Linked DNA regions of Homo sapiens: all the other regions are linked to region 2. The links are contacts of gene promoters, found by promoter capture Hi-C in blood cells and fetal thymus (Javierre and others, 2016). All regions are on one chromosome and are shown on one strand. Each heading gives the region's core, a stretch centred on a gene start or on the middle of the fragment in contact. The rest is flanking DNA. Distances are from core to core; before and after follow the strand shown.

The links. Contacts are between HindIII fragments. The CHiCAGO score rates a contact against its expected background, and 5 or more counts as called.
Region 1: a contact is called between a fragment that was not itself captured here and the fragment with the promoter of DPH2 in region 2, in 1 of 17 cell types (M2 macrophages). The highest score is 5.7, in M2 macrophages.
Region 3: a fragment that was not itself captured here is called in contact with the fragment with the promoter of DPH2 in region 2 in 4 of 17 cell types (endothelial precursors, monocytes, M2 macrophages and 1 more); the score reaches 7.5 in endothelial precursors.

The regions. Positions count from the first base shown.
Region 1 is chr1:43,741,029-43,745,623 of GRCh38, forward strand. All of the region lies in intron 2 of ST3GAL3 (ST3 beta-galactoside alpha-2,3-sialyltransferase 3), which reads left to right. Among named protein-coding and RNA genes, the nearest start is that of ST3GAL3-AS1, 16 kb to the left of the region's middle. The HindIII fragment of the contact is 1,480 bases long and covers 1,057-2,536 here.
Region 2 is chr1:43,966,623-43,971,460 of GRCh38, forward strand. DPH2 (diphthamide biosynthesis 2) reads left to right here and starts at 3,388. Exons shown (of 6, transcript NM_001384.5): 1 at 3,388-3,700; 2 at 3,974-4,086; 3 at 4,344-4,567; 4 at 4,765-4,838. The coding sequence starts at 3,554. IPO13 (importin 13) reads left to right here. Exons shown (of 20, transcript NM_014652.4): 16 at 1-19; 17 at 102-160; 18 at 308-397; 19 at 693-874; 20 at 964-1,400. The coding sequence ends at 1,060. RefSeq lists enhancers at 3,419-3,698, 4,184-4,730, 4,731-4,838. The HindIII fragment of the contact is 12,483 bases long and covers 1-4,838 here.
Region 3 is chr1:43,766,247-43,770,647 of GRCh38, forward strand. All of the region lies in intron 2 of ST3GAL3 (ST3 beta-galactoside alpha-2,3-sialyltransferase 3), which reads left to right. Among named protein-coding and RNA genes, the nearest start is that of ST3GAL3-AS1, 41 kb to the left of the region's middle. RefSeq lists an enhancer at 643-1,178. The HindIII fragment of the contact is 3,242 bases long and covers 313-3,554 here.

The DNA of each region.
Region 1 (4,595 bases), core at 547-3,046, 230 kb before region 2:
ACCTTTAAAAATTCATGACTGGGTGAGGTGGCTCATGCCTATAATCTCAGCACTTTTGGAGGCTGAAGTGGAAGGATTGCTTGAGCCCAGGAGTTCAAGACCAGCCTAGGCAACATAGGGAGACCCTGTCTCCACAGAAAAATAAAAAAAATTAGCTGAATGTGGTGGTACATGTCTATGGTGCCAGCTACTCGAGAGGCTGAGGTGGGAGGATCGTTTGAGCCCAGGAAGTCAATCAAGGCTGCAGTGAGCTGTGGTCACGCCACTGTACTCCATCCAGCCTGTGTGACAGAGTGAGACCCTGTCTCAAAAATGTTTTAAAAATTAAATTCATGCTACTGTGTTTATCAATTATTACAGCTCCCTTTGTGTTCTTCCTCATATTTATAAAAGATTATAACCAGATAAATTATAAAATATGCATTCAAATTATAAAGTACACATTGTTGATCTGATTGCCCTGGAGAATACTCTCTGGCACAAAAGCGGAAGTTGGATCTGATATTAGGAGGACAGGTTGAAGTGAGTTTAATAGACGTAGGACATTGTATTAACTCTTAGTTTTCTGTCTTAAAAATGAAGAGGAGGCTGGCATTTCTGGCCATGTTTCTGGCCTCTGGCTTAGGGAGGTACTCTGCTTCCCATGGTAAGGAAGTAAGTGGTATCAGAACTAGCCTCCTCTCTATAGGAAGCTATAAAACTGGACAAAAGAAATGAAGCAATTGTGTCAGCCTGTAGACAACAGGCAGCGTAAAATTTCAGTTCCTAAGAGAAGGAAAACTCGAGGTGAGCGCCACATTTGCTCAGTTTTCTGTCTGAGGACGGTTTCCCAACCCTGTTCTGTGAGTGGAGTCTAAACAGGCTGTGATGATTTCCCCTGAGCTGAAGAGGCAGAGGTCAGAGTTTGGGCAGCTGAAGCAGTTGGAATCTGTGGGGTGGACCATCATAGGGTAGGGAATTGTTCAGCAAGAGGGTCTCAGAAGTCTGTGGGGGCATTCCTGTGAGGCTGAAGCTAAGGACTGGCCTATTATTTATACATGGGGTGAAGCCACCTGAAGCTTACCATATAGACAGCAGCTGGTACAGGATGAATAGAAAAGAGATACTGGAGGTCAAGTCCTGTTGGGGTGAAAGCAATGCCAGGAACGCTGATGGTCCAGCCCTACCAGTAGAAAGATCTCATTAACACTTTGTTAACACCCCTGGCGTCCAGCTGAGACCCCAGACAGGCCATGCCTTATGAATAAAGATCTTACCCAAGAGTAAGATCTACCGTAGACCCGCCCTAACAAGGCCTAAAGCCAACCCCCAGCAAGACAGATTTCAAAGTTTGGGTCTTATCAAGAGAGGTCAAAAATGCCATGGGCTTTCCTCAGATCCACACTCATGATGCATAAAATCAAGACCACACAAATTCAGGGCCGTCAGGTAGTCATTGAACCATCTGCTAAAATACAAATTGACACTCTTCATAGGAAGATAACAGTATTCATAGTTTTTATGTGTAATATCCACAGTGGCTAATGTTCAAAAAAAGTTACTAAGACATGCAAAGAAACAGGAGAATATCCATATTCAAGAAGAAAAATCTATGGATAAGATGGCCTCAGTGTTGCACTTAGCAGACAAAGTAACTATTATGAATATATTTAAATAATTAAAGGAAAATACAGTAGTGAACAATGAGTAGTCTCAGCAGAGAAATGGAATCTATAAAAAAGAACCAAATGCAAATTCTAGACCTGAAAAGTGTAGTAACTGAAATGGAAGTTTCACTTAACAGCAGATTACATAAAACGGAAGAAGCCCATGAGTTTGAAGAGAACACAATGGAAATTATCCAGTCTGAACCACAGAAAGAAAGATCGAGACCATCCTGGCCAACATGGTGAAACCCTGTCTCTACTAAAAATACAAAATTTAGCTGGGCCTGGTGGCACGTGCCTGTAGTCCCAGCTGCTTGGGAGGCTGAGGCAGGAGAATTGCTTGAGGCGGAGCTTGCAGTGAGCCGAGATCGCGCCACTGCACTGCAGCCTGGTGACAGAGCGAGACTCCGTCTCAAAAAAAAAAAAAAAGACAATTGGGCAGGAAAAAAAATAACATTTTATTTTTTGAAAATTAATTTCCCATACTTACTCATCTGAAGGAAAAAAAAATAAATAATGGCTGAAAACTTCCTAAGTTTGATGAAAACCATTGACTTACAGAACCAAAACAGAGCCCCCTTATAGAGCCAACCCCAAGAAAGATAAATATTGGGGGAAAAAACCTAGGTACATCATAGTTAGACTTCTGAAATCTAAAAATAAGGAGAGGCTGCTGCTGGTGCTGCTGATGAGCTCATTTGGTGTGGACATGGTGCCTCTTTAGTGAAGCAGCAACTGATATCTCTGGTGTTCCCTGTGGCCCATGAAATGCCAAGAGAGGTGTCAACACTTAAGAGCAACGATCATACTAATTTGAAGGTGGTGGGGCAGATTGGTTCTGTGGTGCAGTTTAAGATTAAGAGGGATACACCATTTAGTAAACTAATGAAAGCTTATTGTGAATGAGAGGGTCTGTCAGTGAGGCAGATCAGATTCCCATTTGACAGGTGGCCAATCCATGAAACAGGCACACCTGCACACCTGGAAGTGGAAGATGAAAGTACCATTGCCATGTTCCAGTAGCAGACAGGTGTCTACTACAAAGGAACCTGCTACTTTAGTCCAGAACTCCATTCTTACAGAGCAACAATACATTCTCAGTTAGAAAACTGCAATTTGGTTCTGCCACATCCTGACTACTACAGTATAGTATTCTCTATTCTTTCATTCCCCCCCCCCCCATTCCTATATTACATGTAGAGTAAGTGGTGTGTGTACACACGCATATTGTACTTTTAAGAAAACAAAATGGCCAATGGTATGTTTTGATTACCATCAAATGGATATGGGATGGGGAAAGATACTGGTTCTGTGAAAATACTCTTTCTCCATTAGTGGCATGCTTATCTTTATATTCCAGTAACTTAATTTCCTCTCACTATTTCAACAAAAAAGCCAACATGAAAAATCCTTGCATACCTTGTTTGATTGGAGAATTTTAATGTTTTTTATTTATCATCATAAAACCAAAGACAGTTTTACAATTTTTTGTATGTAGGTGTTTCATATAGAGAAGTCTGTCTTTAAGGCGGGTAATTACTCTTAAAAATGAATCCTAGTTTTTCCTTCAAATCAAGCATCTTCTTTTTTTTTTAGACAGAATCTTGCTCTCTCGCCCATGCTGGAGTACAGTGGAGTGATTTTAGCTCACTACGACCTCCACCTCCTGGGTTCAAGCGATTCTCCTACCTCAGCCTCCCGAGTAGCTGGGATTACAGGCACCCGCCATCATGCCCAGCTAATTTTTGTAGAGACGGGATGTCACCATGTTGGCCAGGCTGGTCTCGAACTCCTGACCTCAGGTGATCTGCCCGCCTCGGCCTTCCAAAGTGCTGGGATTACAGGCGTGAGCCACCACACCTGGCGGCATCATCTTCTTTAAATAAACTTCTCGTTTAAAAAATAAACAGTGAGCTTGCAGTGAGCCAAGATTGCACCACTGCACTCCAGCGTGGGGGACAGAGCGAGACTCCCTCTCAAAAAATAAATAAATAAATAAATAAATAAATAAATAAAATAAAATAAAAAATAAAATAAAATATAATAGCCTGGCGTGGTGGTTTATGCCTGTAATACCAGCACTTTGGGAGGCTGAGGCAGGCGGGATCACCTGAGGTCAGGAGTTTGAGACCGTGAAACCCCATCTCTACTAATAATAATACAAAAATTAGCTTGGCGTGATGGCATGTGCCTGTAATCCCAGCTACTTGGGAGGCTGAGGCCTGAGAATCGCTTGAACTCGGGAGACAGAGGTTGCAGTGAGCCAAGATCGTGCCACTGCATTCCAGGCTGGGTGACAGAGTGAAACTGTGTTTGAAAAAAAAGAAAAAAGAAAGAAAGAAAGAAAGAAAAATAGGCTCATGCCTGTAATCCCAACACTTTGGGAGGGCTGACTTAAGGTCAGGAGTTTGAAATCAGCCTGGCCAACTGGGCTATACAGGAAAGATGAAGACCACTGGAAATGGTAAATGGTAGGCAAATATGACTCTCTTTCCTTCTTCTCATAACTTTCTTAAAAGACAACTAATTGTTTAAAGCAAAAATAATAACCCAGTAAAGTGAGATTTTGGACATATGTAGAGGTAAAAGATATGTCAACACTTGCATAAGGGATGGGGGATGGGTAAATGTAATTTTACTGTACAAGGTTATATTTGTGAAAAAAGAAGTAAGTGGGAAACAAGAATGTTTTATATAAAGTGAGAAAAGGAAAGGGTAAAGTAATAAATATGAAATGTCAGATTTGAAGAGGTATTATACTGACTCTAAATAGACTGATAAGTTAAGGATGAGTATTGTTAGCTCTAGAACAACTACTTAAATAACACAACAAAAAGAGACAAACAGTCATACACTGCATAGCAGCATTTTGGTCAGTGACAGACCACATATGCAAAAGTGGTTCCGTAAGATTATAATATCATATTTTTACTGTAGCTTTTCTATGTT
Region 2 (4,838 bases), core at 2,138-4,637:
AAAGCTGTGTTCCAGTGTGGTAAGTGGGGCGAGATGGACAGGTGGGCCTGGGGCTCCCCTAGAAGGATCGTTAAACTGATCTGCCTCTGCCTTTCCCACAGCTGTGCTGGCCCTCAAGTTCCCTGAGGCACCTACTGTCAAGGCCTCCTGTGGCTTCTTTGTGAGTCCCATGCTGAACCCTGACCCACTGCCACCCCAGTGCCCTCCCCTGCCCAGGACTTCAGACAGTAGGGCTGGGGTGTACAGGTCTTGTCCTCAGGGAGAGCTGGGAAGGAGCTGGGCTGATGGGCCTCTCCATCCTCTGCAGACAGAGCTGCTGCCTCGGTGTGGGGAAGTAGAGTCTGTGGGAAAGGTGGTACAGGAAGACGGTCGTATGCTGCTCATAGCAGTGCTGGAGGTGAGACGGAGCAAAGGGGGGTTTGATGGGGGTGAGGGCCCCTCACTGCTGAGGCAGCTGGCCTTCTGGGAGGCTTGAGCCTTTGGTCCCCTAAGCTCTCAGATTCTGTTTCTTCTTCAATTAAATGCCTGAAAGTTGTTAGGATTGCTGTGGGGATCAGCTGGCTCTCAAAAAGCAGCGCTCACTGTGATGTGCAGTTTGGCTTAGGAACTGTCCAGAGGGCAGTTAGGCATTCTTGCTGCAGAAGCGGCGGAAGGGGCAACACCCTGGTGTGCTGAGAACCCCTCTCCCTCAGGCCATTGGGGGCCAGGCCTCCCGCAGCCTCATGGACTGCTTTGCCGATATCCTGTTCGCCCTGAACAAGCACTGCTTCAGCCTCCTGAGCATGTGGATCAAGGAGGCCCTGCAGCCACCTGGTTTCCCCTCTGCCCGCCTCAGCCCTGAACAGAAGGATACCTTCAGCCAGCAGATCCTTCGGTGAGCAGAGCTGGGGTGGGCCTGGGGTCAGGCAGAGAGGGGGCAGTGGTGGTGGCTGGTGCTAACCTGCTCTCCCTTTTCTCCTTCAGCGAGCGAGTGAACAAGAGGCGGGTGAAGGAGATGGTGAAGGAGTTCACACTGCTGTGCCGGGGTCTCCATGGCACAGATTACACAGCTGACTACTGAGGGGTGCCCCCATCCCATCCACCCCTTCTCTTCATCCTTCCCTATTCCCAAAGAGTAAACCTGGACCCTCACTGCTGTCTCTGCCTCCTTTCTGCTGTCACCACCACCTAACTGAAAGCCTGGGTCCAGAAGGCCTGGGGGAAGGATGGGAGGATGCTTGGACCCAGGCCTTGGGAGGGAATGGTGGGAACATCCTCTAGCTCCCAGGTTGGAAGAGATACTACTGTAGCCAAGCCACCTAGGCTGGAGCCCTTCAGAATACTGTCATTGTCCTTGGGGCGGGGTGGTTGCAGTAGTGTCATCAACCCCCCCATCCCCATTAAATTAATCCCAACATGCATGTATGCATACATTTATTTAATCAACACCGCCGAATATTAGGCCCCTAGCTCTGTCCTGCGTCGTTCTGCCCTGAACAAAGGTTGATCTAGTCCATAGCTACCATGGAGAATGGTAGGAAGTGAGGGAAGGCTGCATGGAGAAAGTTTTTGACAGGAATAGTAGGCTTTCTAGGTAGAGGACTTGAGACTTTGGGCTGCAAGTGGGGTAGGGCTGGGTCCGTTTAGGAAGGAAGAAATGGAGTGGAGTTTTGACTTCCGGGAGGGGTTTCTGGTGTGGAGTTATACAACATCGAACTTGCATATGGTTGAGGAGGGCTATAGAAAGGGGCTGAGTGTGTGTGTATTGGGGGGTGGGTGGGTGGCAGGGAGGTGAAGGAGAGAAGATATCTCAGCCGCAGAGGAGAAAAGAGGAAAGTAGGACCTAAGGTTGTCCATATGTCCGCTGCTCCCCGCTTACACAGGACCTCCAGCACAGGATGGTCAGGGATCAATCAGCACCAGGGACAGCTCCTGACCTATTCTTGCTTTTCTCCCTTAGCAGTGTTGCCTCCCTTTCTGTCTCCTCAGCTATAGTTTCACCTAGGCTGCCTCTCAGGTACCCCAGGCTTCTCCTCAGTAAGATCTGAAGAGCAGAATGAGTTCTCCCCACTTTTACCCTTGAGCTTTCAATCTCCTTGTGGGTGATGGGGAACTCGTTACTCCCACATTCATCCCACTCCTTCCCTGTTCAATAGATCCGGGTTTGATGCTGGTTGTGCCACAGAATTAGTGTCTTATTACACAAGTAGTCTCTTTGAACCTCAGTTTCCGTATCTGACAGAGGTATGTAAGGAGGGCATTTCAAGTGATGTTGCATGTGGGGGTGTTTGCATATAAGTAAACATGGGGAGTAGAGGGGATGTGAGGGGCTGGAGGGTAGAGGTCTATGTGGTATGCACTGGGGGTATTGCTGGGAAGCAGCAGTGTTTGAGGATGGCTGGAGCTGTGCAGAGCATCTCCTGTGACTTGAGGATGTGCCAGTCATGTCCTTGGTACCACTCGGGATAATTCTTACTCCAAAGACTGTAAACACTAAAAATGAAGTGCCTAATGTACAGTAAGTGCTCAGTATTTGGCTGATTAAATAGCAAATGCTTTCACTGCATGCGATATCCAAAGAACTACTTTGTAAAGTTTTGTATATAAATTAATTAGACCCTCACAACAATCTTATTAAGAGGTACTATTGTCACAACTCCCCATTCTTCAGATAAGGAAATGGGCATAGGGACATTCCTAAGATACTCAGTAGCAAGTGACCAAGCACAATATTCAAACCCGAGCCGGTCGGCACCAAGTTTAAAATTATGCAGTGTAGCCGGGCACGGTGGCTCACGTCTGTACTCTCAGCATTTTGGGAGGCCGAGATGAGTGGATTGCTTGAGTTCAGGAGTTTGTGACCAGTCTGAGCAACATGGCAAAAACCTGTCTCTACAAAAAATACAAAAATTAGCTGGATGTGGTGGTGCGCCTGTAGCCCCAACTACTCAAGAGGCAGAGGTGGGAGGATGGCTTCAGTCCAGGAGGTGAAGGTTGTGGAGATCGCGCCACTGCACTCCAGTCCAAGCAACATAGCGAGACCTTGTCAAAAAAAAAAAAAAATGAATGAATGAAAGAATTATGCAGTGATACTGCCCAGAGGATAGAGTGCACGTGAAATGCTTAACAGTGAAGTCGGTGTTCCTGATGGCCGCGGGTCGGCTGAACCGGACTCCCAGCGCCCGAGAGGAGGCCAGGGGAACTACAATGCCCACAAGGCTCCGCGCCTTCCTCGATGTACTTCCGGCTGGCCTGGGACTCAGGCTGAACATTGGTTCTCTGTGCGGGGCGGTGGCGGGGATTGGAGGGCGGGAGCTGTGCTGACTTAGGATTGGCAAAATCGCTATCAGCCACGCCTCTAAAACCCGGAAGTAACCTCCCCGGTAGTCCCACGTGTAGCGGAGAAACAGTAGTTAGGATGGCTGAAGGGGATACTCACCGGCTGAAGGCCGACTGTGATTCCCCCTACCCCCACAAGGCGATTTTGACCCCCTGAGGGCTGCTCTAGAGGACTCAGGCCCCGAAGCTGTCCCAGGGAGGTCCCCGCTGCATCCCACCACCCAAGCTGTGCCTCATGGAGTCGATGTTTAGCAGCCCTGCCGAGGCGGCGCTGCAGCGAGAGACCGGGGTGCCAGGACTGCTTACTCCTCTTCCGGACCTGGACGGAGTGTACGAGCTGGAGCGAGTCGCTGGATTTGTCCGCGACCTGGGGTGTGAACGAGTGAGGACAGACTTAGGGAAGGGTGGCTCGCCTCTGTCGGGATGGGTCGCCCAGAGGATCCGGATCTTGGGGGATTTTGTGAGGGCGAGAGGGTGGGGGAATCAGTCTGTCCGCAGCGCGTTGACCATCCCTCCCTTCCACCTACTACGTGGGGCAGAGTGCCCCTCTGGGACCAGGGGCTTTGAAGGTTGAGTGGGAGCTCCTGGAAGATTGCTTTAAAGAAGCCCTCAGTGGGAGAGAGGCTGTCCCTGACTCCATGGTTTATGCTTATAGGTTGCCTTGCAGTTCCCTGACCAGCTATTGGGAGATGCTGTGGCTGTGGCTGCACGACTGGAGGAGACGACAGGGTCAAAGATGTTCATTCTGGGTGACACAGCCTACGGCAGGTGTGAACTTGGCCTTAGGTGGGCCAGGCCTGGGGATCCGGGGCTCATGGGGTTTTACGTCTATGACAGTGATTGCCTTCAATGGTGGTGTTTCTCCTTGATGATAATGGTAATGACTCCCCTTCTGATGCTAGCTCCTTTCATTGACAATGTCTTCCTTTAATGAAACCATTTTATTCACTGACCACATTTCCCAGTGATGACAGCAACTCGCCTCCAGAAGAGAACCCATTTCTCTGATGCTATCTTCCCTGCAGCTGCTGCGTGGATGTGCTGGGTGCTGAGCAAGCTGGAGCTCAGGCTCTCATACATTTTGGCCCTGCCTGCTTAAGCCCTCCAGCCCGCCCACTGCCCGTTGCCTTCGTGCTTCGTCAACGTTCTGTGGCCTTGGAGCTCTGTGTCAAGGCCTTTGAGGCCCAGAACCCAGACCCCAAAGCGCCTGTGGTGCTGCTGAGTGAGCCGGCCTGTGCCCATGCCCTGGGTAAGGGGTTTTGCCTGTGTATGCACAAAGGGTGAGCCAACTGCTTTATGCCTTAATTTCCCCATTTCCATATACCATCCATAGAACTCTTGATATGGGCTTGGCCCCAGCCTACTGGGTCATATTTAGTCTCCTGGGGATGAGGGAGCTCCTGCTTTGCCAGGCTCCAACCTCAACACTACCTCCTTCTCTTCCAGAGGCTTTGGCTACTCTCCTGCGCCCACGGTACCTGGACCTGCTAGTCTCCAGCCCAGCTTTTCCCCAACCAGTG
Region 3 (4,401 bases), core at 684-3,183, 200 kb before region 2:
GCTTGTTACTTACTCAGCTTTATTCCAGGCAGTGTGGGGCATTTAGGAAGAGAGGTGCCTGGGCCTGGGAATTTTAAAGACTGAAAGCTGAGACTCACAGGAAGTAACCAAGGACAAGACAATGAGATGAAGTGTTTCAGAGACAACAAAGAAGTGGCGATTTAAAAAAAAATAAGTAAATAAATAAGAAGTGATGTCAAGGAAAGCTTTGAGGAAGAGATGGGCACTGAAGCAGGGACCTGGCGGTTGGGGTAGGACATGTGGGGACCTGGGAAAGTGCTCTAGCAGACAGAGTACTCGAAATATTTTGTAAGCTTCAGTGAGAGCTGAGAGCGGCTTGTGAGGAATGGTGGGGGGCGGGGAGTAGTGAGACCGAGGATTGCAGAGCAGGGCAGAGTCGATGACAGAAGGCCCTAAGGTGAGGTGTGGAGTTTAGATTTAATGCAGCAGGGCCATTAAAGGCTTCTACCCTTAATGGAAAGACCTGGTGGAAAAGTAGTGTTCTGGACTTTTGTGTGAAGGAAAATTAACAACACAGAGGTCTCTTCTGGAATTTCTGTTGAGCACCTAGAATTTAAAATGGGAGGTTGTGTTCCTTTATTCCCTCAGCAAAATAAGAGGAAGTGACTCTCAAGCCTGGACTTGAAAGATGAATGAATAAGATGAGAAGTGCATTCTAGGCAGTGATAGTAGCATGAATAAAGTGGAGGGGCCTGGAAAAGGGCTGGGAGAGTCTTGTGTGGAATGCAGAGTTTGGATTCTGAGTTAGGCGGAAGCAGCTGATGAAAAGGAGAGAGAGAAATGTGGTCGGATTTGCATTTTAGAAGGCTCACTTTGGCAGCTGTGTGGAGGCTAGATTGCGAGAGAAAGAAAAGAGGTAGGGATACCAATAGCCACAGCACTTCACCACTTGAGGAGTTTCAGGGACGGACAGATGCTTGGAAAGGCCTTGTGGTGGAGGTAACATCTGAGCTGAGTAGGGAGGGCTAGGAGGAGCAGAAAGGCAGAGGGAAGATTATGGATAGAGGCGCAAGAGTGCAAGGCATGGCATGAGTGAAAACCAGGGGAAGATGGATGTGGCTGGCATATAGAGTCTCTGGGGGATGGTACTCCCTGGGCAGGTAGGTAATGAGTCAGGTCACAAAGGTCCTTCTTTATATGTCACAGTGAACAGGGAACAGTTTAGACTTCATCAGGTAAATGAAGGGGAAGCCACAGACCATACCTAAAGCAAGTCTCAACAAGTGTCAGAGGATTGATCACATGCAGAATCAATCCTCTGACCACAGTGAAATTAAGCTAGAAATGAATAACAAAAAGATAACTAGAATATTAAGAAATGAATTTGTAAATAATCATTGGGTCAAAGAAAAAATCATGGGAAGTAGAAAATATTTTGAATTGCATGATACTGAAAATATCAAAACTTGGGTGGGGGGGTAGGGGAAGGATAGCATTAGGAGAAATACCTAATGTAGATGATGGGTTGATGGGTGCAGCAAACCGCCATGGCACGTGTTTACCCATGTAACAAACCTGCACGTTCTGCACATGTATCCCAGAACTTAAAGTATAATTAAAAAAAAAAAAAGAAAATATCAAAACTTGTCAAAACTTGTATGATGCTACTATAACCTATAAGCATAGAGGGAAGTTTGTAGACTTTAATGCATGTTAGAAAAATAACCGAAGGTTGAAAAAAATTAGTAATCTAAACATCAATTTCAAGAAGTTAGAAAATGTAGAGCACATTAAACCCAAAGAAGGAAAACAGAAAATAATAGTTTGATGAAAAAGAAAAAAAAATACAGAGGATCAACAAAGTCAAAAATTTGTTCTTTCAAAAGATTAACATACTTTTCCAAGGAGCAAGTTTTTTTAAAAAAAGATTAATAAAATTGACAAATGCTGGGCACAGTGGCTCATGCCTATAATCCCAGCACTTTGAGAGGCCAGTATTTGAGGATCACTTGAGGCCAGGAGTTTGAGACCAGCCTGGACAACACAGCAAGAGCCTGTCTCTACAAAAAAATTTTTTTTAAAATTAGCTGGGTGTGGTGGTACATGCCTGCAGTCCTAGCTACTCCAGGTGGCTGAAGCAGGAGACTCACTTGAGCCCAGGTGTTCAAGGCTGCAGTCAGATATGATCACACTACTGCACTCCAGTCTGGGCAACAGAGCAAGACCCCATCTCTAAAAATAAAAAATAAATTTTTCAAAATTAAAATTGACAGACTTCTGGCAAGACTGATTGTGGAGGTCAGGGAGGAGAGAAATTGAAGCACAAGTGCCAGTGAACAATGCCAGGAACAGGAAGGGAGACCACACTACAGGAGCTATAGGCTTGAAAAAGATAAAAAGAGGCTGTATGAACAATTTTATGCCAAAAGTCCTGAGAATTTTGTGAAAATAGATCCATTTCTAGAATAATATCCGACTAAAACTGACTCAAGACATCATGGAAAACCTTAGAATCCTATAAACTTTTTAAACCAATGGAATCAATAATCCAAAATCTTTCTCCCCAGAGAACTTCAAACCCAGAGGGCTTCACTGGAGATTTCTTCAGCAGATTGAAAAGAATAATTAATTCCAGCTTTGTTCAAACAGTTCCAGAGAACTGAAAAAGAGGGACACTCCTTACTCATTTTTTTGAGACTAGCATAACCTTGATACCAAAACTGAAGAAAGACAAACTCAAGAAAGGAAGATTAAAGGCCAAGCTACCTAAAAATATAAATGTAAAAATCCTCAACAGACATTTAGCAAATTCCACAATATATAAAAAAGATAATAGATCACCATCTAGTAGTTGGGCTTATCCTAATATACATGGTTGATGTAACGTTAGAGAAATTCATCAGTGTAATTAATCACATTCATAGGTTAAATAGATTTTTATTAGATTAAAAAGAAAAACATTTCAGTAGATACAGAACAAGCATTTAATAAAATTCAGCATGTGTTGATGCTGGAACTGCTTAGCAGACTAGGACTAGCAGAGAGCTTTCATCTGAAAAAGGGTATCTGTTCGTAAAACTCAAGCAAATATTTTAAGGGTGAAATTTTGAAAGTTTTCCCTTCAAGATCAGGAACAAGACAAGAACATTCCCAAACCACTTTTTTTCTAATATTGAGCTGAATGCCTAGCCTGGTGCACTGAGGCAAGAAAAACCCATGATGAAAATCTTAACCGAGGAAGTAGCAGGATGGGGAGGGGAGGGCATGGGCTTGGGAGACATTTGGGAAGAAGCCTTGTCATGCCTTGGGTTCCTGTGTTCGTTTCTTTTTTTCAACACATATTGACTAAATATAATATCTGGTAATAGGGAAGGTAGGAAAGAGAAGCAAAGGAAAGGGGCCTAACATTTATTCAGTTCCTACCCCGTGAAGGTGCTGGACTAGATGGTTCAAGTGTTTTAGCTTATTTCATTCACATACTCTCTTTGCTATCTTGAGAACTCCTGTAATTAGTCATCCGGGAAACTACATAAGAAAAAGGTAATATACTATATATTTGCATAAAATCATTCCCATTGTAAAATAGTAGTTCAAGCTTGTTTTTAGGTATAAAAGGATGTTGTATTTTATGTACTAGTTCTGTTTTTATTTTTTCTCTCATTTTTATTCATATAACAGGTCTTTGAAGTAGAATAAAGTCTGGCAAATGGTCTTTTTCTAATTTTATAGATAAAGAAGCGAGTACAGAATTACACTGATTAGCTCAATTGTCAATATGGGACTGAAACTTCAATCTTTCATCCCAGGGAGTAAATAATTTAAACTATAACTTGAACCATGGAGTAAATAATTTAAACTGTAACTTGAAAGCACATAATCAAAAGATTTTTGAAATGGAAATATGCTGGGGTCCTGGAAGCATGGTTCAAGGAATCAAGCAGAATATTCTCTAGTAAAAGTCTTTGTAAGACTAACTATGAAAGAGAGAGGAGACAGAGAGAAGTGAGGAGAGGAGAGGGGAGGGGAGGAGAGGAGAGGGGAGGGGAGGAGAGGAGAGGGGAGGGGAGGAGAGGGGAATGAGTAGGGGAAGGAGTAGAAGGGAGAAGACCAGTGGACGGGCCTCAAGTTTTTAGCTGTGTGCGTAAATTAACAAACACAAACAGAACAGATTTTAAAAGCACTGACATAGGAGGGAAGGAAGGGTCAACCTCATTATGACTTGTTGAGATGGGACTAGTGACAAAAACAGGATGATAAAAAGATAGGACATTTCAAAGACTACATTTAAAGGAGAAAAAGAAGCAAGCTGTCCTGGAGGCAAGACTAGGGGTGAAAATTGCTTGGACAGTTGTTGTTTTTTTTCTTTTTTTTGAGATGGAGTCTCAGTATATTGCCCAGATTAGTCTTGAACTCCTGGGCTCAAGCGTTCCTTCAGCCTCA